Regions from separate parts of the Homo sapiens genome. Here all the other regions are linked to region 4. Evidence: promoter capture Hi-C in human tissues and cell types (Jung and others, 2019). All regions are on one chromosome and are shown on one strand. Each heading gives the region's core, a stretch centred on a gene start or on the middle of the fragment in contact. The rest is flanking DNA. Distances are from core to core; before and after follow the strand shown. Region 1 overlaps LRIG3-DT (LRIG3 divergent transcript). Region 2 has its middle 240 kb from the start of LRIG3-DT. Region 3 has its middle 230 kb from the start of LRIG3-DT. Region 4 holds the start of LRIG3 (leucine rich repeats and immunoglobulin like domains 3). Region 5 overlaps LINC02388 (long intergenic non-protein coding RNA 2388).

Region 1 (2,700 bases), core at 123-2,622, 180 kb before region 4:
CTTGGGCTTTTATATTCCTCTTCCTCTTAATATTTACTCTAATATTAATTTAAATCTGAATTGTAAAATAAAATATAAAACAGTACACAAAAATTAATATTCAAATAGTGATTCACTACAAATTGACAATTCTTAGTACATCCTTTTTGCACAGTAACATTTTCACCCTACATGAAAATGGTATCAATGTTCTCAAAGTTACAAAACATGGCAGATGTTTTATTCATTTATCCACTTCTTCATCATAAATTTATCGTGCAACTGAGAACACATTATAAGAGGCAATGTTTGGGTGGTTGTGTTTCTGTCAAGAATAACTGGCTCCAGGGCCATGGTTTGAAGTGTGGCTGTCTTGGGGACCCCTTCCCCCACACCATACTGATGGCCTTCCCTGGCTGTAAACACCTTTTCACTGCCAATTCATCAGCCAGGGCAATTTTGAGACTTCTGTTCCCCAACCATTCTGCTTCTCTTCAAAAAGCATTTCAGACCTCTGACCTAGGGCACTGTATTCTAGACAATGGCCACTCAGCTCTTTCTATGGGGATGCCAGTCTTAACCAAAGAAAGACATGAATGACATTTTAGTCACTAAAAAGAATAGGATGTGGAGTCAAGATTGAGGAGTCAGAGCCAGTTCTACCAGTTTCAACAATTCTCTCCTTGTCTCTAAGAACTACTTCCCGAATATTCAAAATGAGTATTAATATCTACCTTACACTTATTGAAAAAAGCAAGTAAAATTAATAAAAATACATTTTTGAAACTGTATGGTGGTATATAATTTATTGTCCTATCTTTTCTCCCTCTCAAGTAGTCTCAATAATCATATGCTCTTTTCTTTCCCTTCCTTCTTTCTTTCCTTCCTTACTTCCTTTTCTTCCTTTTTTCCTTCATCCTCCTTCTCTCCCTTTCTCCTTTTCTTCTTCCCTCCTCTCTCTTCTTTTTCCCTCCGTCTCTTTCTCCCTTCCTCCTTTTATCCTTTTCTCCAAGACATTTTTTGATTTTCTACTATGTATCCAGCCACTTTGTTCCTAAGTAGAGTATAAAGATGGATAAAACTGGTGAAAAGCATGAACTCTAGAATCAGACTGCCTGAGTTCAAATCTTAGCCCTGTCATTCACTGGCACGTGCCCCAGAGTAGTTAGTTAACCCCAATGTGATTCTATTTCTTCTTTAGTAAAATAGAGATAGAAGTATTTTTCCATGCAACAGGCTTAGCACAGTGCCTAATACATTGTCAGTCTTCAAAAACAAAGAATGCACAGAGATGTTGAGCAGGGAAATAAACATACAAGTAACAAACTCTATTTAGAAATATTGTGAAAGTTTTCACAAAAGAGAAGCCCTTGGGATGGGTTTTGAGAGATAAAGAAGAGTAGCAATAGACTAAAAGTAGCAATATTTGTTCTTAAATTAATAAATTGAGTAAGTGGGGAGACATTTCACTCATTCATTCATAGAGATGTTTATTATGTGGGGACCAGACTGGGCACTGAGGATATAAAAATGAATATGTTATTTAGGAAGTATTAATAATGTTTAGGAGTGGTAATGATATAGTGGTAATGCTATAAAAGAGGTGTATGTATATTTATCTTTTGGCTATATATACTAAAAGATGATATAAAAGTGTCTGGGATTTGCGTCAGCATAACCCAGGGTGTGAGGAGATCAAGTGCGTATGAGAGTGTATAGAAGAAACAAGATTGGACAAGAGTTGATAAGCTGCTGCTCCAAATTCATCCTCTATGCTTTTATACATGTTTGAAATTTTCCTCAGTCACAACTTTTATAAAATGAACAGGAACAGGCTCCCTTTACCGTCAACTGTGGCACATATGCCTTGCAATGTGATGTTCACATAAGGCTATTTTAAAACAAATAGTGGCTGGGAACCCCAAGGTTAACGAAGGATGTTGAGGTTTTCAGTGACTCTCTATATGGATGTTTTTCTTATTCATCACATTAGTTGCTCCCTTGATAGGGACCTTGGAATACTTCCTTTTTTAGTGTGAAGTAAATGAGAGAAGCAGGTGGAGATCTTGTAACATAATAGTAGGCAGTTTCCTCATTCTGGTAATTATATGGCACTTCCATTGAAGCTTCTGGAATACTAACATTCTTTCAAGAGATACATAATCTATCACTTTTCTGTAGAGGGATTCAAAATTGGAGACACAAAAGTGAATTAGTCATTATGTTGCCTCTCCATAATGAAATAGCTGATGTGCTATTACCTCACATTGCTGTCTCACAGCCTTTATGATTTTACCTGCCTCCTGAATGTCTGTGTTTAATACCTTTCTCCAGATGTCTTAATTTGCATTTAATTCCTGCTTGAATCTAGTTTTATCTTTTGCTCAGATTTCTAAGGTCTTTAGGCCCATTCATTAGTTTCTCTATTTCTATAGTTGCTTGCCAAGCCACCAAATTTAATATCATTAAAATTTTCATTGTTGTGCTACAGTCTTTTTTTCCAGATCATTAAATAGAAGCAAATATGTGGGAGAAAGTGTAGGAGGGAGCTGCAAATAGCATTGTATTAATTAACTAAAAAAAAGAAATGTTTTAATTTTAAAAGACATAAATTTCTGTCTAGATGATGATATAATGATTCATCTGAGATTATTCATATATTGCTTCTTATATCCACCTCTTTCTAAAAGAAATGTAAGTTAGGGCATGTTTACCAAAAGT
Region 2 (2,700 bases), core at 153-2,652, 240 kb before region 4:
ATTTATGTCTATCAGCACTGTCCCTCTGAATTTTCTGCAATGATGGAAATGTTCTATAAATCCAGCTGTCCAATACAGTATCCATTAACATATGTGGCTACTGAGCACTTGAAATGTGGCTAGTCAAACAGATAAAATGGGGTTCTTTGGGTGTAGACCCCCATAGACGTAAATATTAGGGCATCTGAAGGCAAAGGGGCTAATTATTTCTTAAGGCTAACTAGTACTCTACAGAATAAATAATAATAGAGACATAAGAAATATAATATAGCAAGTTAGAGAACCAACCATTTAGACTTTAAATGCTAACTTTAGGTTGATAAAAATCATTGGTTCTATTTGAACCACGAGAGCACCTTTCTCCTTTTCAAATTTGACTGCTTTTAATTACTAGAATCTAGGTTATAAAAGTTGTTAGTATTTCTATAACCTGAGTTTTTGTATCACAAAATAGTATTAAATTGTCAAGATCATTATTCTATTTTTATACAGACAACATAAGAGAATACTTAATTATTCCCTATTACTGGAAAAAAGGTAAATTAATTTTTAATGTATTAAAATAAGAACAGGAAGAAGGAATTTTATTTCTAAATAATTAGATGGACATTGTTAAATAATTTTTATTCAGTATTTGCTGATAATAAAATCATTTAAGGAAATATGTTCAATACTTATCTGTAAAAATTGGACATTCTTTTGAATATTTTCTTCTGCAATTATTTTGAATCAACCTTTAATGAGAGAGTATATTTTAATGCTAATATCTTCTTCGTATCACACATCCAGTAGGTGGCAGTCTTTCTTTTGAATTAAGAACCCAATAGAATAAAAGTAAGGATGGACGGATAGATGAGCTAAACAAACCCCATCATTCTAAAATGTACTGTGCATTTTCAGCTAAATGGTGAAATGAATATCTGGTCTTCCAATCCAGTAGATTTTGCAAGACTTGAAGCTGAAGTAATGCCTTGTTGTTGACAATAATATAGGTCACCGGGACACCTGGGAAAAGGGAATAACTAGGTTGTCTGGTCTGACTGGAAATTATTGCAGAGCTCTGTCGTGTTTTCAGTGCCTCAGGCCATAGGACAAATTTGTAGCTGATCTGGGAGTAAGTTCAAGAGTCAAGATGATGCCAAAATATAATTTTTTTCATCAAATCTCTCCTGAAGCTGTAAGAAAATAACAGTGATTTAAGCTTTTCATCTCTTTTCATTATCCATTTTTAATGTCATGGAGACATGACAATACAGCAAAATAAAAATGTATAAAGAGATAAAAAATAGCAAACAGTGAGTGCCACATACTGCCTTTTGAAGAGTTTAAAGCACATTTATGGATATCATCTCACACTGAGAGATGATATTTAATTTTTCAAAGCCTTACTGAGTAACTTTAACAATATTTGAAATATATACAATTGGTTACTTTTTTCTGTCTGAAAGAAATCAACATTCTACTCATTTTTTCTTTCTTACTGTTCCTACTTCAAACTTGGTTGGGTTGTAGTTTATCTTTCAGAAGGGGAGGTGCATAAGTATTTCCACCTTTATAAGGGTTGGTTTTTTGTTCCTAACACCCCAGATTTCATGTTTGTTTCATTTTGTCTATCTCATTTCTAAAACATTCTTTCTGGAGTAAGATAAGATAAAAATCAATAATTCAACCATTGTGGTTAGATGGCCTACCAGCCTTCAATTCCCAACACATTGATCACACAAATCCCTTTCTTCATGTACTTAGTTTTTTTTATTATTATTGTTCACTAGACCATAACACTGAGGTCCCTCTGGTGAGAGATATGTTTTACTCATTGTTATTCTACCCACAAGGTCCAGCATAAGACTTCTATATGGTAGGCATTCATGCAACATTTATTTAATGATTGAGCAAATTAATGAATATTAAATCAAATTTTACTTTCCTTTGGGTTTATGCCATGTAAAGTTTCTAAATTTTTTCCCATAATATGTAGGAACTCATTTCCGTACTTCAACAGCTAACATTCCTAATACTGAATATTTCTGTTAATGTTAACTCCAAATTTTTTCTGATAACAGTAATGCCCTAAGCTCTTAACTTTTTCTATAGACACCCCTTTAACTGATTAAAAAAAAAAAACTTCATGAAGCAAGTAAATACATGTTTCATGTCAATTTTACTACATCTTAAGCCACTCTTTGCTCACAAACTGGTTCCACATGGTTGCCGGGAGAAGAAAAGAGAGCAGATAAGGTAGTCAAGGATTAAATATCCCAATAGCCAAGTACCACAGGGCATGCTACAATGTCAGAGGGGCCCAAATTCTGTGGTAAGTCAGGAGTTCAGATATACATTTCTGGAAATACAAAAAGGAATTTTTAAAGCTACTTCCCAAATGTTCAAATAAAATTAATAAATTATTACTATAAACCCAAGAACCACTTACTCTTCAGACTATATTTCATTTCTCACCAAGTTTTCTCTGTTAAATATGATTACCTTGTCCAGTTTAACCTCAAAAACTACCTTTCTAGATTTTAGTATTAATCATTATTACATTAAAAATCTTTCATTATTGCCATCTCTGTTCGATCTTCACATAGTTAAGTTCATGCCTGTTCAGCCTCTGTAAACAGAAAACTATGGTCTCCTATGAGTATCACTCTAGCTTCCAGTGTACAGAAAGGAATTCATCCTTGTAGTAAAACTTCTAGT
Region 3 (2,700 bases), core at 50-2,549, 230 kb before region 4:
GAGGGTCACCACCCCTGTGATTAAATTACCTCCCACTGGGTTCCTCCCATGACATGTGGGGATTATGGAAACTAAAATTCAAGATGAGATGTGAGAGGGGACACAACCAAAGCATATCATAACTTGAATATGTAATGACTAATCACCTCGGGAACAACTTCATTACATATAGTCTGACTCCAGAGAAAGTTGAAGAATTTCTCTCCTGTGAATTATGATGGCATCAGTACAATTGAAATCCTGCTTTAGGAAAAAGCCAGAAAGAAACAAACTTAGCCCAGTAGTAATATATGAAAAAAACTGAAATGAATTCTTTTTTTTTTTTTTTTGGAAGTAATAATCTTTTTTTTTTTTTGATACTTTAAGTTTTAGGGTACAGGTGCACAATGTGCAGGTTAGTTACGTAAGTATACATGTGCCATGCTGGTGTGCTGCACCCACTAACTCGTCATCTAGCATTAGGTATATCTCCCAATGCTATCCCTCCCCCTCCCCCCACCCCACAACAGTCCCCAGAGTGTGATGTTCTTCTTCCTGTGTCCATGTATTCTCATTGTTCAATTCCCACATATGAGTGAGAATATGCGGTGTTTGGTTTTTTGTTCTTGCGATAGTTTACTGAGAATGATGATTTCCAATTTCATCCATGTCCCTACAAAGAACATGAACTCATCAGTTTTTATGGCTGCATAGTATTCCATGGTGTATATGTGACACATTTTCTTAATCCAGTCTATCATTATTGGACATTTGGGTTGGTTCCAAGTCTTTGCTATTGTGAATAGTGCCGCAATAAACATATGTGTGCATGTGTCTTTATAGCAGCATGATTTATAGTCCTTTGGGTATATACCCAGTAATGGGATGGCTGGGTCAAATGGTAATTCTAGTTCTAGATCCCTGAGGAATCGCCACACTGACTTCCACAATGGTTGAACTAGTTTACAGTCCCACCAACAGTGTAAAAGTGTTCCTATTTCTCCACATTCTCTCCAGCACCTGTTGTTTCCTGACTTTTTAATGATTGCCATTCTAACTGGTGTGAGATGATATCTCATTGCGGTTTTGATTTGCATTTCTCTGATGGCCAGTGATGGTGAGCATTTTTTCATGTGTTTTTTGGCTGCATAAATGCCTTCTTTTGAGAAGTGTCTGTTCATGTCCTTCACCCACTTTTTGATGGGGTTGTTTGTTTTTTTTCTTGTATATTTGTTTGAGTTCATTGTAGATTCTGGATATTAGCCCTTTGTCAGATGAGCAGGTTGCAAAAATTTTCTCCCATTTTGTGGGTTGCCTGTTCACTCTGATGGTAGTTTCTTTTGTTGTGCAGAAGCTCTTTAGTTTAATTAGATCCCATTTGTCAATTTTGGCTTTTGTTGCCATTGCTTTTGGTGTTTTAGACATGAAGTCCTTGCCCATGCCTATGTCCTGAATGGTAATGCCTAGGTTTTCTTCTAGGGTTTTTATGGTTTTAAGTCTAACGTTTAGGTCTTTAATCCATCTTGAATTGATTTTTGTATAAGGTGTAAGGAAGGGATCCAGTTTCAGCTTTTTACATATGGCTAGCCAGTTTTCCCAGCAGCATTTATTAAATAGGGAATCATTTCCCCATTGCTTGTTTTTCTCAGGTTTGTCAAAGATCAGATAGTTGTAGATATGTGGCGTTATTTCTGATGGCTCTGTTCTGTTCCATTGATCTATATCTCTGTTTTGGTACCAGGACCATGCTGTTTTGGTTACTGTAGCCTTGTAGTATAGTTTGAAGTCAGGTAGCATGATGCCTCCAGCTTTGTTCTTTTGGCTTAGGATTGACTTGGTGATGCGGGCTCTTTTTTGGTTCCATATGAACTTTAAAGTATTTTTTTCCAATTCTGTGAAGAAAGTCATTGGTAGCTTGATGGGGATGGCATTGAATCTATAAATTACCTTGGTCAGTATGGCCATTTTCACGATATTGATTCTTCCTACCCATGAGCATGGAATGTTCTTCCATTTGTTTGTATCCTCTTTTATTTCATTGAGCAGTGGTTTGTAGTTCTCCTTGAAGAGGTCCTTCACGTCCCTTTAAGGTGGATTCCTAGGTATTTTATTCTCAATGAATTCTTTAAATGACTGGTAAATCACTTTCTATGTGAAAGCTTATCTTTTTCAATCTCCTTCCACGTGAAAGGACTCACAAGTTTAACTTTAACTTAGATATAGCAAAGAAAATGTTCTTGTAAGTCACCTAACTACCCAATTAAGTCCAGTGACAGAAGATGTAAAATGACTTCATTTTTGGTGAATACATTATGTTTTTGGTACACAACTTGCTCACAAGGACATGCCAATCTATGTGTTATGTCACTTATCTGGAAGCAGTATAGATTCTTGTGGGATTGTAAACATAGCAAATGACAGAGGAGATGAGATACCTCATCACAAATGAATGAATAATAACTTAGAATCTGAGGTGATATTGAAGGACAATCAGAGGCAATCATATTCTCTGCTAATCTGCTGTTTTGGTCACCACATTATATTTTTAAATCAGACTACATAATTTTCCCTCAAGAAAATAAGAATTTATTATTTTAGTAATTTCATGTGACATAGTACGTCCTGTTTCTGTGGAAGAACAAAGTAATTCAGAGATCAAATATTACATAAATGAGGTTTTTGCAGTTATCACATTTTTCTAATTGTTATTACTTATCTCTT
Region 4 (2,700 bases), core at 161-2,660:
CAAGGTGCCATCATTATAGATATTTTCTAATTATAATTATACATCATCCAAAAAGGTAGTAGCGTTGTTGTTAATGGTAGCTGGAAATAAGAAAATGGGATACCATATCTAAAATAGGGTGTGTTAACTTCAAAGTGAGTCTTTTCCTTCCCCCGTAAGTGGGAGTGATTTGCTACAGTGAAAAATCAATGGGCCTTAGAGTCAGGGTTAAAGTCTCAACTCCACAAGCTATCTCCACTCCTCAATCATGAGCAGTTTACGCAACTCCAAGGACAGACAAGCTTGGGCAGACAGCATGCAATAAACAATGTATAGAAGTGAAAACTTACTTTAAGCTTCCAGGGTTTGTTTTTTGGTTTGTTCATGTTTTCTGTCTTGCTTTTATTTTTATTTTTTTTGCAACAAACACATTAGTTACGTTCTCTAGGTCTATTTCCTTACCCAGAGGAGGAAGGCCCCTTAGCACATGATCTCTGCGGTCTCCATTAGTTTCAACATCTTGTGGCGCTGATCACCTGTAAGTTAAGGAACAAACTTCACTGGGAAGTCCTGTAGCCTGAATCCAGCCCCAAACATCCACTCCCCCAGCTGAGGAGGCCGGGAGGTACTTTTACCCTGGTAGCATTCTCAATCAACATGTGTCATTACTCAAAGCGCAAGTGGACCAAGGTGCATATACTAATTTTTTCCTCCAAGGTCTTAGTTTTCATTTTACTTTGAAATGTCACTGTGACTACTTTTATTATTACTATTACCAGGAATCTATGATTGCCATCGAGGTCTATTAGAAGGTCATCTCCCATCCCCCACCCCGCCCAGCTTTATCCAGTGCACGAAGGCTGGCTATTTGTAATTCAATATACACTTTCCAAAACCACGAGTTTTACGTTTTATTATTGTTTTTACTTTTGAAGCCGATGTATGGGGGAACACCCACCAGCATTAACGTTGAAAGAGCTGTTTTCATTGAAACCACTCTTTCATCTGTGGATGGTAGGATAATTTATCAGTGTCTTTAATTTGGAATTGAAAAGTTTCCTGAAAACACTGCTAATTAAACTTTACTTCCCTGAAGTTCTCCTAAATACCTCCAACTCCGAGAACTAGCCCAGTATTTGCTCACTTCCTTTTGCCTTTCAACTCCATTTGATATATGTTTCCCACGACGTAGTGGAGACTTCTGGCTGGAGAGGCTGGAAAATATAACTCTGAATTTCCTACAATCTCAGCTCCACTTTCTCCCGCGCGTAGGCCCCCGGCTGGAGCGGTGTTATTGTCACGTGGCCACGGGGACGCCCGCAGCCGAGTCGGCCAATGGGCGCGCGTCGGCCTCTACCCGCCCGCCTTGCTACTCCGCCGCGCGGGGACTTGGCGCAGTGCCGCGGGGTGGAGGCGAAAAAGTTTCTTTTGCAGACAAGAAGGGGCTTCGGCGAGCCGACGCTGCTCAAGCTGCAACTCTGTTGCAGTTGGCAGTTCTTTTCGGTTTCCCTCCTGCTGTTTGGGGGCATGAAAGGGCTTCGCCGCCGGGAGTAAAAGAAGGAATTGACCGGGCAGCGCGAGGGAGGAGCGCGCACGCGACCGCGAGGGCGGGCGTGCACCCTCGGCTGGAAGTTTGTGCCGGGCCCCGAGCGCGCGCCGGCTGGGAGCTTCGGGTAGAGACCTAGGCCGCTGGACCGCGATGAGCGCGCCGAGCCTCCGTGCGCGCGCCGCGGGGTTGGGGCTGCTGCTGTGCGCGGTGCTGGGGCGCGCTGGCCGGTCAGACAGCGGCGGTCGCGGGGAACTCGGGCAGCCCTCTGGGGTAGCCGCCGAGCGCCCATGCCCCACTACCTGCCGCTGCCTCGGGGACCTGCTGGACTGCAGTCGTAAGCGGCTAGCGCGTCTTCCCGAGCCACTCCCGTCCTGGGTCGCTCGGCTGTAAGTATTCTTCCCGCGGGGGGAGGGGGCCCGGGCCGCTGGAGATTCGAGAAAACAGGAGCCGGCGGGGAATGGGGTTCGGCGTGCAGTCCCCTTTTTGCCGTATAGCTCCTTCTGGCCCAGGCCGCGATCGGCGCTCCGTGGGCGTGGAAAAAGAACTGTCCGGGCCTCAGTTTCCCTCCCACGTGCTTTGCGGGCGGCGCAGGTGGGCTCTTGGCGCGTCCTAACTGGCTGCAGGTAGACCAGGGTTGGGGGCCAGTAACGACGCCAGAGATTGGGGATGAAGTCCTGCGCCCTAAGCTAGCCAAGGGGTTCAAATGCTTGCTCCTGCCAGGCCCAGGGGAGATAAGCGGCAACCTGCACACATCAGGAGTTTGCAGTTCTCGCTGAGTTATGAGTCTGGTTCAGTTTTAGTTTCTAGCTGCGTCAGACTCCTTTTCCTGTTCCCACCCAGTAACTGAAGTCAGGCTTTTCATTTGGGAAGCCCCCTCAACAGAATTCGGTCATTCTCCAAGTTATGGTGGACGTACTTCTGTTGTTCTCCCTCTGCTTGCTTTTTCACATTAGCAGACCGTAAGTTCCCACTCCTCAACCAGATTGTAAAGACTGGTCGGTAGCTATGGAAAGGGCGGAACTCGATTATCCAGAATCAAGGGCGTGATTTCTGTAGCTCCTCAGAACGCCCAGACGGTTTAGGGGAGAGCGCAGGGAGCTCTTATGCAAGTTTTTGGATTTTTAGCTGCGAAGTCTGAAAACCTGAAATCACTGCCAACTGCGTGAAGAACA
Region 5 (2,700 bases), core at 126-2,625, 160 kb after region 4:
TATATATATATATATATATATATATATATATATACACACACACACACATATATATTCCATGGCGTGTGTGTGCGTGTGTCTGTCCACAGAATACTAAGCAGCCAGCCATAAAAAAAATAAAATTATATTCTTTGTAGCACCATGGATGGAGCTGAGGGCCACTATCCCAAGTGAAATTATGCAGAAAAAGAATATCAAATATTGCTTGTTCTCTCTTATAAGTGGGAGCTACACAATGGGTACACACGGACATAAAGAAGGGAAAAACAGACACTGGGGCCTAATTGAGGGTGGCAGGTGGGGGGAGGGGGAGGATGGAAAAACTGCCTGTCAGATATTATGCTTATTACCTGGGTGACAAAATAATCTGTACACTAAACATGACATGCAATTTACCCATGACCTGAAATTTACCTATATAGCAAACCTCCACATGTACCCCTGAACTTAAAAATATTTTGAAAAAGTAATAAAACTGTTCAGTTTTATATCAAAATCAACATGTCCAAAACCGTCATGAGACTTAGAAGTGAGTTCCTTCAAGCTTGCTTTGCCTGTAACAGTGCTGCCATTTCCTTAGTTGCTGCCAACAGACACAGCCCTGAAAGCCTCCAGAACTCTCATTACATGTTCATACAGGCAATCTCATGCATGCATTTACTGGGTTGTCCAAATTGACTCCCTTTACTTGAATGTCTTTTTAAATCTATTACTGCCTTCTTACTGAGGATTGAAAGTAAAATCCTCTAGTGTCTAAATTTTAAAGATGGGAAAAAATAAAATATACATGAAGAGCCTGAGAAAATACTTCCTAGTTAGCCTTTTTGTGTCTTTCTATCATGTGTAAATTTGTAACAATAAAAAGTTTTAGTCTAACCTTTGTGTTCTACTCTAGATCTGGCTGTGCCTATCTGCTAGTCTTGCCTCTATGAATGTCCCATAACCTCCTTTTCCATGCCCACTCCCCTCATTCCCTTCACTACCCTACTGTCATCATGAACTGCCTGGCGCTGTGCTTACCTTGCAACTTGACTTTATGTCAACCTGCCTTTGTTGCCTCTACCGTCTTCACTTTGATTCGGGCAACGTTCACTATGATCCCCACCCCAAACCTCAATCATCTTTTAAAATTCAGCATAAGACATCCCTACAAATTGAAGGATTTTGTTTTTGTTTTACTTTGCCAGGGAAAGTCAATTGCTCCCTCTTCTATGCCCTGTATCACCTTCGGTAAACATCTGCTAGAGCTCATGTCATATTTTATCGTAGAGTTTAAATTCATTATATCCACATGCTTTAATAGACTCTCACTCCTTGTGGACTGCAACCATATCTAATTTATCAGTGCATCCTGCCACCCTCATACCTGGCACACAGTAAGCGTTCAATAAATGTTTATTGAATTCATTTTTATTTGAAAGCCATTTCTATCAAAAGTTACAAAAGAAAAATAATCAAGGACATATGAGTAAGGCAAACTAAAGTATATGCTAAAGATAAATTCAAAAACAGACATTGCAGAGAGGTTTATTCTATTAACCACTAAGTGATGTGTCATAGATTTGGTGTTTCCTATACTTGCTGCCTCAGTATCTATTTTTAGGGCTGACCTAAGTTGTTTGAACCCAGTTGTGCCCTGTCGCCTTTGGCTTAGTTAAAATTTCTTCCTTCCTGTGCAGCTGTTTGTGATATAGCCCATTGTTCCTCATCTCAGTGATCCAAAGCCGAAAATATTTCACAGCTCCCGACCACGAGAAAACCTAATGGTCAACTCTAGAGTCATGCCAGTAAGTTCTCCCCGGCCACACGCAGTGGCTCACGTCTGTGATCCCAACACTTTGGGAAGCTGAGGCAGGCGGATCATCTGAGGTCAGGACTTCAAGACCAGCCTGGCCAACATGGTGAAACCCTGACTCTACTAAAAATACAAAAATTAGCGGGGTGAGGTGGCACGTGCTTGTAATCCCAGCTACTCGGGAGGTTGAGGTAGGATAATTGCTTGAACTCGGGAGACGGAGGTTTCAGTGAACTGAGGTCGCGCCACTGCACTCCAGCCTGGGTGACAGAGCGAGATGCTATCTCTAAAATAAATAAATAAATATTTTCCTTAAACTAGCCAATCCGCAATTCCCATGGGAAAGCCTAAGGGATAACACCCTGGACCTTAATAAAGGCATAGTTTCCAGGTCTCTCTCTCTCTCTCAACATGTCTTCCTCTACTCCACAGCTCCAGCTCCCTGCCACCTCCACATCTCCCAGTCAGCCTCTTGTTGGCACACTGAATCACTCTGGGGCCAGTGAGTAATAAATTTGATCTGTTTCATGCATTTTGGTTTTACTTCTTCATTGTGTGTCACCTGAAACACACACTTGAACTTAACTTTCCCCTATCAGGGCTCTCCTAGCAAATGTTTATCTTGGCTTTAGGCCTCTCTAGGCCTCAAGACCAATTAGAAAGAAACCATAACAATAGAAATTATCATAACATAATGTATATGTAATGGTAATTCAGCATTTTAAATAAGCTTTTTCTTAATAGTTCTTTATGGGGTGATAATTTCATATTGTATATATACGATGGTATTGATTTAATGGATACTAGCAAGTTAAAAACTTCATTTTATTTTTATTTTGTAATATTTTATTTATGTAAATATGAAATCCAGTTGTCAACAATAGTAATTTCTCCACGAACAGATT

Evidence for each region. Contacts are between HindIII fragments. The study calls those that stand out against the background at their distance.
Region 1: a contact is called between a fragment that was not itself captured here and the fragment with the promoter of LRIG3 in region 4, in 3 of the 25 tissues and cell types used here (bladder, heart left ventricle and thymus).
Region 2: a fragment that was not itself captured here is called in contact with the fragment with the promoter of LRIG3 in region 4 in 1 of the 25 tissues and cell types used here (hippocampus).
Region 3: a fragment that was not itself captured here is called in contact with the fragment with the promoter of LRIG3 in region 4 in 1 of the 25 tissues and cell types used here (dorsolateral prefrontal cortex).
Region 5: a fragment that was not itself captured here is called in contact with the fragment with the promoter of LRIG3 in region 4 in 1 of the 25 tissues and cell types used here (IMR-90 fibroblasts).

What each region holds. Positions count from the first base shown.
Region 1 is chr12:59,095,981-59,098,680 of GRCh38, reverse strand. The region is part of intron 3 of LRIG3-DT (LRIG3 divergent transcript); the gene reads right to left. Among named protein-coding and RNA genes, the nearest start is that of LRIG3-DT, 180 kb to the right of the region's middle. The HindIII fragment of the contact is 3,776 bases long and covers 1-2,700 here.
Region 2 is chr12:59,163,407-59,166,106 of GRCh38, reverse strand. No RefSeq gene overlaps it. Among named protein-coding and RNA genes, the nearest start is that of LRIG3-DT, 240 kb to the right of the region's middle. The HindIII fragment of the contact is 5,481 bases long and covers 1-2,700 here.
Region 3 is chr12:59,145,400-59,148,099 of GRCh38, reverse strand. No RefSeq gene overlaps it. Among named protein-coding and RNA genes, the nearest start is that of LRIG3-DT, 230 kb to the right of the region's middle. The HindIII fragment of the contact is 4,185 bases long and covers 1-2,700 here.
Region 4 is chr12:58,919,214-58,921,913 of GRCh38, reverse strand. LRIG3 (leucine rich repeats and immunoglobulin like domains 3) reads left to right here and starts at 1,410. Exons shown (of 19, transcript NM_153377.5): 1 at 1,410-1,914. The coding sequence starts at 1,679. LRIG3-DT (LRIG3 divergent transcript) reads right to left here and starts at 1,210. Exons shown (of 6, transcript NR_183518.1): 1 at 1,124-1,210; 2 at 442-515. RefSeq lists silencers at 526-635, 1,254-1,363, 1,784-1,863 and an enhancer at 2,244-2,513. The HindIII fragment of the contact is 9,447 bases long and covers 1-2,700 here.
Region 5 is chr12:58,756,560-58,759,259 of GRCh38, reverse strand. The region is part of intron 1 of LINC02388 (long intergenic non-protein coding RNA 2388); the gene reads left to right. All of the region lies in intron 1 of LOC100506869 (a long non-coding RNA gene), which reads right to left. Among named protein-coding and RNA genes, the nearest start is that of LINC02388, 24 kb to the left of the region's middle. The HindIII fragment of the contact is 4,751 bases long and covers 1-2,700 here.